2 separate regions of the Homo sapiens genome follow, and region 2 is linked to region 1. The links are contacts of gene promoters, found by promoter capture Hi-C in blood cells and fetal thymus (Javierre and others, 2016). All regions are on one chromosome and are shown on one strand. Each heading gives the region's core, a stretch centred on a gene start or on the middle of the fragment in contact. The rest is flanking DNA. Distances are from core to core; before and after follow the strand shown.

Region 1 (6,896 bases), core at 3,805-6,304:
AATTTCTGCTGGTTAGGCTTTTGGGGAGCCTTGAGTTCTCTGCAGATATAGCCACACCTATATATTGTGGAGTTAAGGTTGCAATTCAATGACCATCAGTAAGACACACGGCTTGGGAGCCCTAGGACCAGCACTTACTGCAGTAAAACCATTATTTTCTATCTTTATCCTAGCAGATGATGGGAAAGACCAAAGGGACAAAAGGCAGCTGGTGGCAGCTCAAGACTGCAGGTTATTTTCAGAAATTAAGTAGTAACTATAAAAGCTGGTCACATCCCACACACGCACCAGAAAGAAAGTCCCACTTTCGCAATACAGTCCCTTGACTGTCTATCTTGAAGACCTTCCTCTCTGGCCCTAAAAGAGGAAGGTGTTTCCATAAATACTGCCCTAATAATAGCTCATACACAAATCTGAGGGCCCAAAAGAACTAAAAGGACCCCTTCACTACCACTAATGGTTCACAACTCATCTCTTACCTTTCCTCACGGCATTCATTTCCTGCACATCCTCCTGAAGCTCAAGACTGGCTTTGCAGAAGACACTGCTGCCTCTCTGATTCATCTGTGCTGCCAGGAAAGGGCATTTGCTTGCAGTGCCCTGGCTTGTGGCAGGCAAGGGGTGTCCAGACGGAAGCTGTGTGCCATCTGGACTCTGCTGGGATCCATCAGGAGTCTGTTGGACCTTGGCCTTAGCAGTTTTGTCTTCTGAGGGAGGAAATGGAAAAAGTGAAGCATCAGATCTGGTTGCACAGTATGTAAGAAAACCACTTATTTCTTTCTTTTATTGCCTCAAAGATAAACTTAATACTTACTGTACCCCACCATCCAGACACAAGTGTTTTTTTTGTTTTGTTTTGTTTTTAAGATGGAGTCTTGCTCTGTACCCCAGGTTGGAGTACAGTGGCACAATCTTGGCTCACTACAACCTCCACCTCCTGGGTTCAAGTGATTCTCATGCCTCAGCCTCCCAAGTAGCTGGGGTTACAGGTGTGTGCCACCATGCCTGGCTAATTTGTGTATTTTTAGTAGAGATGGGGTTTCACCATGTTGTCCAGGCTGGTCTTGAACTCCTGACCTCAGGTTATCCACCTGCCTTGGCCTCCCAAAGTGCTGGGATTATAGGCGTGAACCACTGCACTCAGCCACAAGCTTATTTTTATTAGGTTCTGCTAATCTCTCTAGTTTTTCATCTGCTTCACAGGAAACAATGCGTCTATGAAGAGTTAACTGGCACATTCCAGTTGCCTCTTAAACCCACAGTATTTCTCGTCATAAATCCAAAAAAAGTACCATTTTCTAGTTTTAGACAACCCGGAATCCTTGAGTTGGATCATTTCCAGTAATTTCTACCCCAACTACACTCAGCTTATTTTATGAGAGGACACACTCTGTAAGGTAACGGGAAATATTCACACACATTTTTTTCTCTGCTAACATTTTCCTTTCCTTTTTTTTTGAAACAGGATCTCACTCTGTCAACCAGGCTAGAGTGCATGGTGCAATCATAGCTAACTGCAGCTTTGACCTCCAGGCTCAAGTGATCCTCTCACCTTAGCTCTCCAAGTAGCTTGGACTGCAGGTGTTCTACTGCGCCCAGCTAATTCTTTTTATTTTTTATTTTTTGTAGAGACGGAGTCTTGTTATGTGGCCCTAGCTTCTATCAAACTCCTAGGCTCAAGCAGTCCTCCCGCCTCAGCCTCCCAAAGTGCTGGAATTACAGGCATGAGCCACCACATCCTGTCTCTGCTGACATTTTCTAAACAGATTCTTGACAAAGAGGCTTGCTGTTGCTTAACATAAAAGCTATTGGTTTTCATCTAAACAACAGAAATTAGACTAAGACTTAGGTCTTTAGATTGCTAATAAAGTAAGAAAAAATAGGGGTATATCACATTCACATACCTCATCTACTTTCTCATCTAAATTCATCAAAGTCTGCTGACTAAACACCGTTGGCTGGTAATTATCCTTCTAGCTACAGTGACTTCCCTCTCCCCTTGAGCAAATTCATTCACCTTCTTTCTAGAAAAGTCTTTCTTCATCATTCTGGAACACTCCTGTGAGTCACTGGCTAGCCTTTCCTATAACTTGGGTAAAGTGTCTCAATACAGTTTTCATTAAAATCTTCTATAACGGAAGGCCAAAAAAATTATTTTGAAGTTAATTTCATTTATTATAAAAGTAATACATATTCATTAAAGTCTAGAAAAAGAAAAAAATCCTATCATTTAAAACATAGCCATTGCAAGCATTTTGGTAAAAAAGACGTAACTAACTCTTGAAAATAAACCCTACAAAGGATTAAATCCTTTCTGCTTAAAGAAAAAAAAAACTTATTTTCTTACAAGCCCACACCCAGAGAACACGCCTAAGAAAAACCTGTAAAATATTCTCTGGGATTAAGTGGAACCTGAAAAGCTTTGTTCTCTCCTATCAGAAGCAGAGCAAACTAAATTCAACTCTAGTCTCTTTGTTAAAAACAACAACAACAAATGTATATACAAATAAAGATACATGGCATGATCTCAGCTCACTGCAACCTCTACCTCCCGGGTTCAAGCAATTCTCATGCCTCAGCCTCCCAAATAGCTGGGATTACAGGCGTACACCACCACATCCAGCTAATTTTGTATTTTTTGTAACAGTGGGGTTTCACCATGTGGCCAGGCTGGTCTCGAACTCCTGGCCTCAGGTGATCAAACCACCTCGGCCTCCCAAAGCGCTGGGATTACAGGAGTGAGCCACTGCACACAGCCAAGATAAATTTGTTTTTAAAAATCACTAATAAATACTGTACAATTTCACTTATATGAGGTACCTAGAATAGTCAAATTCATAGAGACAGAAAGCAGAATGGTGGTTGTCAGGGGTTGGGGAGAGAGGAATGGAGAGTTACTGTTTGATGGGTATAGAATTTCAGTTTGGGAAGATGAAAAAAGTTCTGGAGATGGATGGTGGTGGTGACACAACAATATGAATGTACCACTGAACTGCACATTTTTAAGTGCTTAAAATGGTAATTTTTCTTGGGCATTTTACCACAACAGAACAAAAACTTTTAAGAAAAAAAAAATCACTACTTTAAAAAGCCAAAGGGGCCGGGCACGGTGGCTCACGCCTGCAATCCCAGCACTCTGGGAGGCTGAGGCAGGTGGATCATTTGAGGTCAGGAGTTTGAGACCAGCCGGACCAACAAGGTGAAACCCTACTAAAAGTACAAAAATTATCTGGGCGTGGTGGTGCATGCCTGTAATTCCAGATACTTGGAAGGCTGAGGCAGGAGAATCACTTGAACCTGGGAGGTGGAGGTTGCAGTAAGCCGAGACTGCATCACTGCACTCCAACCTGGGCGACAGAGCAAGACTCAGTCTCAAAAAAGAAAAATTAAATAAATAAAAAGCCGAAGGCCAAATGTTTAATGAGGGAAATTAGAAGGCTAAATGTTTAATGAGGGAAATTAGAACATTCCAATTTAATATTTATGTGAACGAGGCACTGAGGAAACACTAAAACCCCTATAGACACTAACGTGCAATCCAAAAACCTGTAATGTGCAACACTGGCCACTGTTTCACCTTTAAAGATGGAAAAGCTAAAAGTGCCTACCCTTGGGGGGACAATCATATGAGATAATCTGTGCTCAGAGCCCAGCCTGCACATAGCAGCCCTCTGTGAGTGAGTGTGACCCTCACCACCACTGTGGGGACTGCTTCTAGTCTACCAATGAGCACAAACACCCATACCTGCTCCTTCATTGTCAATGACACTTACTCTCACTGGCCGGAGGGGTTTCTTTGATCTGTTGGTAGTGTACTGCTGCAGTGGACAATGCCCGAGGGGCTGGCTTGGCCCCAACTTCCATCATCTTGGGGCAGTTTTGGGCATAGAACAACAGAGATTTGCCTGCTTTCTGCAGAAAGGCCTGGGGGACTCGGGATAAGAATGGGCAGCGGCGAACAACACTCTCCATGTTCAGGAAGTATGCTGGCTCCTGTGGAAAGACTGATGAAGAGTGACATCAACAGTTGTTAATAATCAGGCAAATATCACTGCAAGCTCACTGGATTCAGGTGTCAACCGCAGTTTATATAAAGGGTACCCTGGAATACTAACACTTCTCCCTCAAAAATGCCTAAGGACAGCACTGATGTGAGCTAAGGAATGGTGACCACACTTTACCCGGGTCACCAACTTCTTCATTCTCCAGCGCTACACAAAGGCACCTGCAAAGCAACTTCACCAAATGAATACTGACAGTACATAATCAAGGGGGCGGAAGGATGAGGGAAAGGTCAAGAACAGGTTTGGGAGGCCAGAGGTTTCTTAGGGAGATGCACAGTGCAGATAAGACATCTTGGCTTACATCTAGGTGGAGAAGAAGCCACTCATCCATCCAGGCAGGGAAGACTCTTAGGGATCCTGACTTTCTCCTGGTCCCCACATCCCCTAAACCCGAGGAAGGGGTCCAGCAGGGTCCCGAGTCCCTGAAGCAAGGATTCCTCCGTGGTCGTGTCCCCACAGCGGGAAGAACTGGGCATAACTGAGAAAGGAGGGGCACAAATGAGGGTAGGGGTATGAGGGCCAGCGCCTTGGGCCTCACTGGGGACGCGCAGGGGCTTATAAAGTCGAGGGAGTTGAGTCTGGAGAAAGAAGGCAGTCCTCCGGCAGTGGGGGTCAGAGGTGACCCGCGGTCGAGGTCTCGAGAATGACGGGAGGGGTATGAGAAGGGAATTCTAAAGCGGCGGGTTCAACCGGGAATAGCCGGAAGGGGCCGAAAGGGGGAAACTGAGGCGGCCGTCTAGGCAAAAGATCTGGAGGATAAACGCTGACCTCAAGGCGGCGGGTGACTGGGACAGTGGGGGATGGGGTCCCAGCACCCGGGGCAGCGGTGCCACGGCTGGCAGGACACCCCGGGGCTTCCTCGGCCGGCGCCGCACCTACCGCGCGGGCCCTCACCTGCGCTGAGGACTGCAGAGGCGGCGGCGAAGGAGGCGGGCACTCAAGTCGAGAAGTCCAAACGAAACGCTCGTTGCCCTTGTCCGGGAGCAGCCTCAGGCCGCGATCGCCGGCGCCTTAATATACAGCGGGAGTGACCGCTGCGCATGCGCCTTGGGCGCTGCCTTCTTCTGCGCAGGCGCGCCGCGTAGCCCTCGGCGAGCCGGGGGGGCGGGGCAGAGAGGCCCACTTCTTGGGCTCTGCGGATATCGGTGCTGCCGGGGATTCCCCGGCTCGCCTGCAGGGAGGAGGAAGCGCTAGGCGGTGGGCGGACGAGGTCTCTTTTCCCGACCTCATCCTGCACCCTCGTGCTGCCTCCCCACCAACTACCCTGGGCTTCAGAACCCTACGCCCCAATTGAGTATAAAATGGCAAGGTCGAGGCGAGGTGCCGCTAGGGCCAAGTTGGGGGCTACAGGGTTGTTAAGCTGGGTGTCTTGGACATGGAGGAAGAAGGAGATCCAAGGGGTTCTGGGCCGGGGTGTTAAGCAGGATCCATCCCGCCTGCGGCTTGCTTTGGAAACTGTGAACAAGGGCTTCCCGGAGGAGGTGGAGCTGGCTATATCGCCCACAAATGGAGTGGTCCTGGCAGGATGCGGAAGAAGCGGGACACTCAGCTGTGGCACTTTCTGGTCTAAGATGATCCAGAGGGGACAGAGGAACAGGGCTAGGGTGGAACCCATCCACTCCACAGCTCTGAGCACTTGGGGAGGAGGGGAAGGCACAGGGCCTGACAATAGTTAGCGTGTAACAAATATTAGCCACTATTTTTATTTTCCATCCAGGGTTGTCTGAAGCCCCTTGCTGGCCACCCTGGGCACCAGCAGGGTGGCTTAGGCCTCCATGCCAAAGGTCAGCGTTGGGCCATACCTCCATTGAGTTTCCCGGGTACAACACATAAAGTGTAGGGCTTGGCAAACCCGTCTCAGGAATGTCAGTCTGGCTTCCTTGCCCCACACCCTTCCCAGCTTGGCTTGGGCTGTGTTGGGCTGGGCCTGTGCCAGGCTCAGAGGTACTCTCCTCCATTCTTGAGGAAAGGGCCTTTGAGGGTATTCCTTTCCCAGCTGAGCATTAACAAGAGGGACAAAGTCCAGAATGATGGTGACCAGGGTGTGTCCAGGTACTTTGCATTTCTGTCTCTGAGCACCCAGCTGGCTGCAAGGCAGGTGAGGTGAGTCTCCACCTTCAGAGGAGGCACCTGGGTTCAGAGTGGCAGTGGGACCAGTCCAGGATGAGGGCTTTGGTCTGAGAGCTCGAGACCCAGTTCTGTGCCATTCAGCCAAGAGATCCTGGGCAGTGCCCATCACCCAGAGAAGATGAGAGAGAAAAGGTCAGCACTTGGACTTGGACCCAAGTGCAGCTGGAAGTGGGAACAGAATAAGGATGATATTGAGTGCTTTGCTCATCTTTGGGCCTTGCTTTCCTTATCTGGGCAATAGGATCATAATCCCTGAAATGCCTGCCTCACAGGTTGTTTTTGTTGTTGTTGTTATTTTGTTTGTTTGTTTGAGACAGAGTCTCCCTCTGTTGCCCAGGCCGGAGTGCAGTGGCACAATCTCGGCTCACTGCAACCTCTGCCTCCCAGGTTCAAGCGATTCTTCTGCCTCAGCCTCCTGAGCAGCTGGGATTACACCACCACGCCCAGCTAATTTTTGTATTTTTAGTAGAGATGGGGTTTCACCATGATGGCCAGGCTGGTCTTGAACTCCTGACCTCAAGTGATCACCCTCAGCTTCCCAAAGTTCTGGGATTATAGGCTTGAGCCACTGCGCCTGGCCCTCATAGGGTTTTTTTGGGGGTGATCAGAGCCAAAGCCAAAGCAGAAAGAACTGGATAGTGGAGTTGGGCATGGGTTTCAAACCCAGCTCTGAATCTTACTTGGCCATAGACTTGGGCAGGC
Region 2 (6,973 bases), core at 3,376-5,875, 300 kb before region 1:
TAGCTGGGACTACAGGCATGTGCCACTGTGCCTGGCCAGTTTTTTTTTTTTTTTTTTTTTTTTTGAGATGGAGTCTCGCTCTGTCGCCCAGGCTGGAGTGCAGTGGCGGGATCTCGGCTCACTGCAAGCTCCGCCTCCCGGGTTCACGCCATTCTCCTGCCTCAGCCTCCCAAGTAGCTGGGACTACAGGCGCCCGCCACTACGCCCGGCTAATTTTTTGTATTTTTAGTAGAGACGGGGTTTCACCGTTTTAGCGGGGTTGGTCTCGATCTCCTGACCTCGTGATCCGCCCGCCTCGGCCTCCCAAAGTGCTGGGATTACAGGCGTGAGCCACCGCGCCCGGCCGGCCAGTTTGTTTTAAATTGGCCCTCTGGCTGCTGCATGGAGAATACAGTCGCAGGGGCAGGTGTGGTGGGAAAGAGGCCATCATTACCTGAAGGTGGCCTGGGCCAAGGCAGGGACAGTGGAAATGGATTGGGAGATATTTGAGAGGGCTTGGGGTGGTGAGATGAATTGGGAGAAGGTCTCAGCAACTGGGTGGGGCGTGGAAGATGTGAGGAGTCCAGCCTGCCACCACGGCATGGGCACAAGGATGCTGACAAAAGCCCCAGGCCTGGAGTCCCATTCACTGGCCTGCCATAGCTCCTGGAAGTCCACCAGCCTTCTACGGCAACAAAGTCCCAGCAACCTTCAGCACTGAACCAGGAGGCGTGAAGCTAAACTCCCAGTTCTAGTGGGAGGAAGGGGCATAGGGAAGGGGCATAGGTTGGAGGGGAGGTGTTTGGGAGGCTTTGGGCATGGCCCAGAGAAGTGGAGATGTTCTCATCTTGAAAAATGCTGACCACACTGTGGTCCAAAGGGAGTGACCCCAGAACATCCCTTTCCTGGAATAATTTACAGATGTGTGGCTTCTCAAAGCAAGAGAAAAGGAGAAATGGTGCCCCTGACACTTTCTTATGGCAAATACCAGGGCCCCAGAGCCTCTGTGCTACCGTGATTTGGCCTTTTCCGCTCATGCCTCTGCGGTCTGCAAACAGGGAAGTTGCTCAGAGCAGCCTGTGTTGAACGGCGGAGCTGGGATGTTGTGGTCTCGTTCCCCATCCTGAGGCTCGCCTTTGCTGAGCCAGGGAGAGACTAGGAAATTGGGTAACTTGAGGGCTGAGCAGCTGCTGGCTCAGGGTAGAGGCTTGGCAGGAGGTGGGCTCCCCTCAAAGCCACCTGGCCAGCTGGGCAAAGCTGCCAGCGCGGTCACCATTCTGGCTGTGGACCAGCTCTTGGAGGAATGGTGGTCAGCTCTGGATAAGGGCTCAGGCTGAGTAAGACTGTGCTGGTCGCACTCTGAGACAGTCAGGGCTAGATGGAGCGATGGGTGAGTTAGGGCCCAGAAGGAAGCGGGAGCTTTGGGGCCTGGTGTGGACACTCACTCACAGGACCTGGGTGTTTGTAAACGTGTGTGAAATGCTGATGAATGGTAAGCCTGCTGCCACATCAGTGCTTCTCCGAGACCACAGCCGAGGGGCCCTGCCTCCGCCCCATGGCCTGGAAGGAGCATCGGCGGTCTGAGCCCACATCTTGCCGTTGGTCCAGCTGGGTGGAGTGAGGCTGGATCACGGCCTGAGTGCTGAGTCAGATTCCCTCCTTCCTGGGGGCACCTCGGGACTGAGCCAGAGCGGGTGCTGTCTCCCCCCCAACCCCACACCCCCCGCAGACCTGATTTTGCAATGTCTGCTTCCCACAGAGCTGCTGCTGGGGGAAGTTGAGGAGACACGAAGTGTGAAGTCTTTGGTGAGAAGGTGGATGAAATTCTCCCAAGCTGGGACCTGGTTCATGGGGACTTTTTAAGGCTGAGAGCCCAGAATCTAAACCCTGTCAGAGAGGAAGGAACCCCAAACTGCTTCCCCCTACCTTTGGTCAGATCAGGGAGGGTGCAGGGCTGGGTTCTGGACCGTGCTCCTCTCCCGCCACAGGCTCCACTGCACACACCTAGCCACGTGCCCTCGGTGAAAAGCTGCTGAATGGGCAAGTGCTAAGGGCCTTCCAGGAAAGCCTTCCTGCCTCGCTGCCCAAACCCATCTTCACTCCAGTCCTGTTGCTGCCCTTACTGAACAGGTTACCCGGGATATCCTTTCCCCTCAGAGCTTCCACTCCTAATATAGTTGTTCCTTGGTGTCTATGGGGGACTGGTTCCAGGACCCTCCTCAGATACCAAAATCTGTGGATGCTCAAGTCCCTGGTATAAAATGGAATCGAGGCTGGGAGTGGTGGCTCACATCTGTAATCCCAGCACTTTGGGAGGCCGAAGAGGGTAGATCACCTGACATCAGGAGTTCGAGACCAGGCTGGCTAACATGGAGAAACCCTGTCTCTAATAAAAACACAAAAATTAGCCAAGTGTGGTGGTGTGCGCCTGTAGTCCCAGCTACTTGGGAGGCTGAGTCAGGAGAATCCCTTGAAGCTGGGAGGCAGAGGTTGCAGTGAGCTGAGATAGCGCCACTGTAATGCAGCCCGGACAACAGAGAGAGACACCATCTCAAAAAAAAAAAAAAAAAAAAAAAGGCATCGAATTCACATATAATCTATGCACATCCTCCCGTATACCTTAAGTCATCCTTAGACGACTTATAATACCGAATACAATGTAAATGCTATGTACATAGAAAAGTCTGAACATGGGGTTGGGCACGGTGGCTCACACCTGTAATCCCAGCACTTTGGGAGGCTGAGGCAGGTGGATTACCTGAGGTCAGGAGTTACAGACCAGCCTGGTCAACATGGTGAAACTAAAAATTCAAAAATTAGCTGGGTGTGGTGGCGGGCGCCTGTAATCCCAGTTCTCGGGAGGCTGAGGCAGGAGAATCGCTTGAACCTGGGAGGTGGAGATTTCACTGAGCCGAGATCACGCCACTGCCCTCCAGCCTGGGCTACAGAGCGAGACTCCACCTCAAAAGAAAAAAAGTCTGAACATGTTCAGTAGAGATGCCATTTTATTTCCTGAATATTTTCAATCCAGGGTTGGTTGAACCCAAGTACAGGGTGCACAGATACAGAGGGCCAACTGCACTTACAGTGGCTCTCGGCTATGCAGGGTGCTGGGATAGAGGCCACGTAGCTGTGTTAGAGTGGCCAGCACTGCTGCAGCCCCATCCACAAGGAGTGGTCAGAGCCATAGGTCTCTGACAAGGAAAAAACTCGAATCTGAGGCCCCTCACTGACCTCTGTCCTCACTGCCCAGAGCATGAGGAGGTGGCGGAGGCCTTTGAAATTCCCTTGCATGGTACACAGGGGGAAACTGAGTTAAGGGGAGGGCAGGAGCTTACCTGCAGGGCTCTCAGCACAGCCCTGGAACCCTTGGCTCTTCCCCCATCACTGTCGCCTTCTCAGCCTCATATCTTCCTGTCCCCAGCCCTGGCCTGGTCCTGAAGCTGGTGAGGCCCTTCTCCCTGCTGCCTCTCTGAGGGACCACAGGCATCCAAGAGAAAGCGCCTGATGGTGGCAGGGGGCCTAGGCCCCTGGCTGGACTGCCTGTGGGATCCTGGGCAAGTCCTCCCCGCTCTGGACTTTAGTCTGGCCATCTGTGCCATGGGGATAGTGGTTGCTGCTCCAGGAGGCAGACACGCTCAGCCTCACAGGAGAGAGACTACCCCCATCACCAGGGTGGGAGGCTCTTCCAGAAGCTCCCAGAGGCCCCTACCATGGGGCCTGAGCAGACCTGCAGCCAGGAGCCTGTCACAGGGACCTGACCGAGGGGCTGGCTGTGGCTGCATACCAGGACCCTGTCTGCTCGCCAGCACACACGGATGGCCATCACAGGCAGGGGTTTGGAGCATGGCTTTAGAGTGGGAATGGCCTGTCCCCATCATCCTAGGGCTTCGGGTTCCTCACGAGGAGGACAGGAGGAGTTGCCCCGAGGCTGTGAGGATTCAAGGGGACCTGCCCGGGGCTGTGGCTGCTCTGTGGCAGCTCTGAGGCTGAAGTGTGTCCTTGCCAGCTGCTCATAACCCCGGACACTAAGGGTGAGTGACTCATTCTGCTTCCCGGTACTCTTGGGGCTGGACACAGGCACACACATGTGCACACACTTGCCCCACGTGAATCTGTAGTCCTCGGGGGTTGGAGGTGATCACATCTTCAACCCCCAGGTGAGGGCCACATAAGACCTGGGCCTCCGTCTGGGCCAGAAGGGCAGGACAGGCCTGCCTCTGTACACTTCAGCTGCACGCTGGGGAGCCCCGGCCCCGCATAGTCAGAGGAGGGTGGGCTGACACACCCCTGAACCCTGGGTGGCTGGACGCAGACCTCAGACTGGGGAGGTGGGCACAATAGCCAGCCCCCAGGCCTGCTAAGAGGCCAGACAGGCGCCAGCTGCGGTTTCTCCCCAGGCCCCTGCCCCTCCATGTCAGTCCCTCCCTGTTCCCACCGCTGGCCGGCAGGGCCCAGACGCCGTGTGCCCCTGCGACTGGCTCACACTTACCTGCCCCCTGACGAAGCTGAAGCCTGCCAGGCAGAAGGCCAGGAGGCAGAGTGGGAGGAGGCCCCGGGGCCCCGCCATGGCTGGTGGGCACGCTGTCCAGGACAGAGTCGGGGCGTAGGGAATGAGCTCTAGGAGGCAGGCACAGCACAGGCAGGCGGGACGGGGCGGGCAGTGGCCTTAAAAGCAGCCCGGAGGCCCCGCCAGCTCACCCCCACAGGAACCCGCCAGGATTTCCTCCTGCATATCAGCAGCCTGCAGGCGGAAGGGAAGGTGCTGGCCACTGACCCCCCATGGGCGGCCTGAGCCCTGCTCGGGGCTTCCCGGCTGGGACCCTCCTGGCATCACAACCTGGAAGTCCAGGCCACCATGAGCCCCGGGACCTGGGCTCTATCAGAGGTTCTGAAGCAAATCCAAAGGCACACGTGAACGAGTCCCCCGCCTGCGAGCCCAGTGTGTTTCATTCAGAGGCTCCTGGGGTGCTGGTCGGCGGAAGGCAGGGCAGCCCCTGAATGGGTCTGTCTGTTCCTGCCTCCACCTTTCCAACTCCAGGGCGCTCATGGGGCTCTGACTCGCTACAGGCACCCTGCTAGCCCACCAGACCCACATCCCCTCACTAGCCCCAGCCACTCCTGAGCCGCTGGTCCTGCCCGCCAACCCCCATCCACCCTCCCTGCCTCCCTATCTGCCCTCCACTCAGCAGCCCATGCTCAGCCAGCTTGCTGCAGCACCTCCAAACCCCTCTCCAGCTGGCTGGTCTCTCTGAACTCTCCCCAGACAGGTCTGCTCCAGCCGCGCAGGCCTCTCTGCTCCTTCAGTGAGCTCTCCCGGCATGTGCTGCTACCCTAGATTGTCACACTCTGGCTCCTTCTCACAGGTGGTCTCAGGTCAAGGGCCACCACTTCAGAGCGCCTCCCTGGTCTCAGCCTGCAGGTGGCCCTGCACCTGGTTCACCTGGCAGCACCAGCCACCAGCTGACATTGGCTTGTTTCATTTGTCTCCCCTGGAACATTGGCTGTGGAAGAGTAGGGGCGCTGTCTGGCTGATTCGCACAGTGGATGCTCAATACACGTGTGCAGAAGGAATAAATGAATGGAGGTGGCTACTTTTATGATCCCTCTGTTACTGGTGGGGAAACTGAGGCTCAGAGGGGCTGGGTAGCTTGTCTGAGGTAATCAGTTTTCATATCCAATCCCAGGGCTACTGTCTGAAGCCACCACTGCCTGCACAGCCAGCACCCCCAAGAGGTGCAGTGGGCCCAGGCTGAGGGCCTCTGCGTGCCAGGGCTGCACGTGGTGGGCCTTGCCTCCAGTTGTCACTACCCCCAACTGCAGACGGCGTAACAGTTGGGGAGACAGGAGTGGGCCAGAGCCCGGTGGCCATCTGTAAATGCTTTGGTAAAGGCCAGGTTGGGGAAAGTTTCTCCTCCCCAGCACACCTCCACTCCCATCAGTTTGGAGGGGCCTTCAGGCAGGCCTGAGATCTGGCTGGGATGGGGGTTGCAAGGGGAAACCCTCCCCACATTCCCCACACCCACAGTCTTCCTGGGGGTGAAGGGTCCTCCAGGCAGGACCCCCACTCTGCTGGCACCAAGGGAAACGGGGGAACAGAAGCAGGCCTGGGACCCAGGCTGGCCACGCCACCCACCTCTCCACAGCCCTGCCTGGCCTGGCTGCCCCAAGGTCCTGGGGACTGAGGCTCCTGGCTGGGCCAGGATGAGTTATGTGGGGCTCATAGGCCCTGCTCTGGCAGCAGGAATGGGGTTGGGGAAGAGTGTGGCATGGGGTTGGCTACCAAAATCCCAGGTCCTACCTCAGCAGGCTCCCTGAAGCAACCCTCAGGGAGGGGCCCATGAGCCTCATGTTTCAGGGACATGAAGACAGACACAGATGGGTATGTGCCCCTCCCTCCACTGTCCACCACCTGGGTCCACCTCCCCACAGACCTCCCCTGCTGCCATTCAAGGGCCACCTTGGTGAGATGCCCCGGCCCCCACCAGCCACCTCAGACTCTGGGATCTCTCTGTCCTCCTCGCCCCTCCCCCACTCTCAACAGGGGTTGTGAAACAGGTGGGGTTGGGCCCAGGGGTGACTGACACATAAGACCTGCAGGACAGCCTGAAGAGGGTGGCATGCCCCGCACCCAGGCAGAGGGGCAGCGGCTGGTGTGTCAGGGGTGCCCTGAGGAGTTTCTTGTTTGCCCTGCGCTCATGGTTTAGCCACAGCCCAGCATGGCACTGTCCAGAGAGGCCATGGCCCTGTCATGCCTCCCATGTTCCAAGAAGCATCTGGCTCCTGGAGGGCTGCTCCTTCCTTTCCCCCAACCCCTCACCCTCCTGTCTCCAGGGCACCCTCCCTCCCCCATGTGACCACGCCCTGGACGGAAGCCCTGCTGGGATCCCAGTGACCCTTGGTTTAGAAGATGCAGACGGTGTCAAACTCTGCTTTATTGGAATAGAGAATACAGGCAGCAGGAATCACGCTTGGTGCTGGCAGCTCCAGGTCC

Evidence for each region. The method cuts DNA at HindIII sites, captures the fragments that hold promoters and counts their contacts. A CHiCAGO score of 5 or more calls a contact.
Region 2: the fragment with the promoter of STAB1 here is called in contact with the fragment with the promoter of ALAS1 in region 1 in 6 of 17 cell types (naive CD8 T cells, monocytes, activated CD4 T cells and 3 more); the score reaches 9.2 in naive CD8 T cells.

Annotation. Positions count from the first base shown.
Region 1 is chr3:52,196,318-52,203,213 of GRCh38, reverse strand. It overlaps ALAS1 (5'-aminolevulinate synthase 1), which reads right to left and starts at 5,054. Exons shown (of 12, transcript NM_000688.6): 1 at 4,959-5,054; 2 at 4,366-4,542; 3 at 3,774-4,004; 4 at 480-707. The coding sequence starts at 3,972. RefSeq lists silencers at 4,813-4,892, 5,003-5,072 and enhancers at 5,213-5,432, 5,443-5,512. The HindIII fragment of the contact is 12,746 bases long and covers 2,423-6,896 here.
Region 2 is chr3:52,492,990-52,499,962 of GRCh38, reverse strand. It overlaps STAB1 (stabilin 1), which reads right to left and starts at 4,625. Exons shown (of 69, transcript NM_015136.3): 1 at 4,472-4,625. The coding sequence starts at 4,549. NISCH (nischarin) reads right to left here. Exons shown (of 21, transcript NM_007184.4): 21 at 6,895-6,973. The HindIII fragment of the contact is 21,004 bases long and covers 1-6,973 here.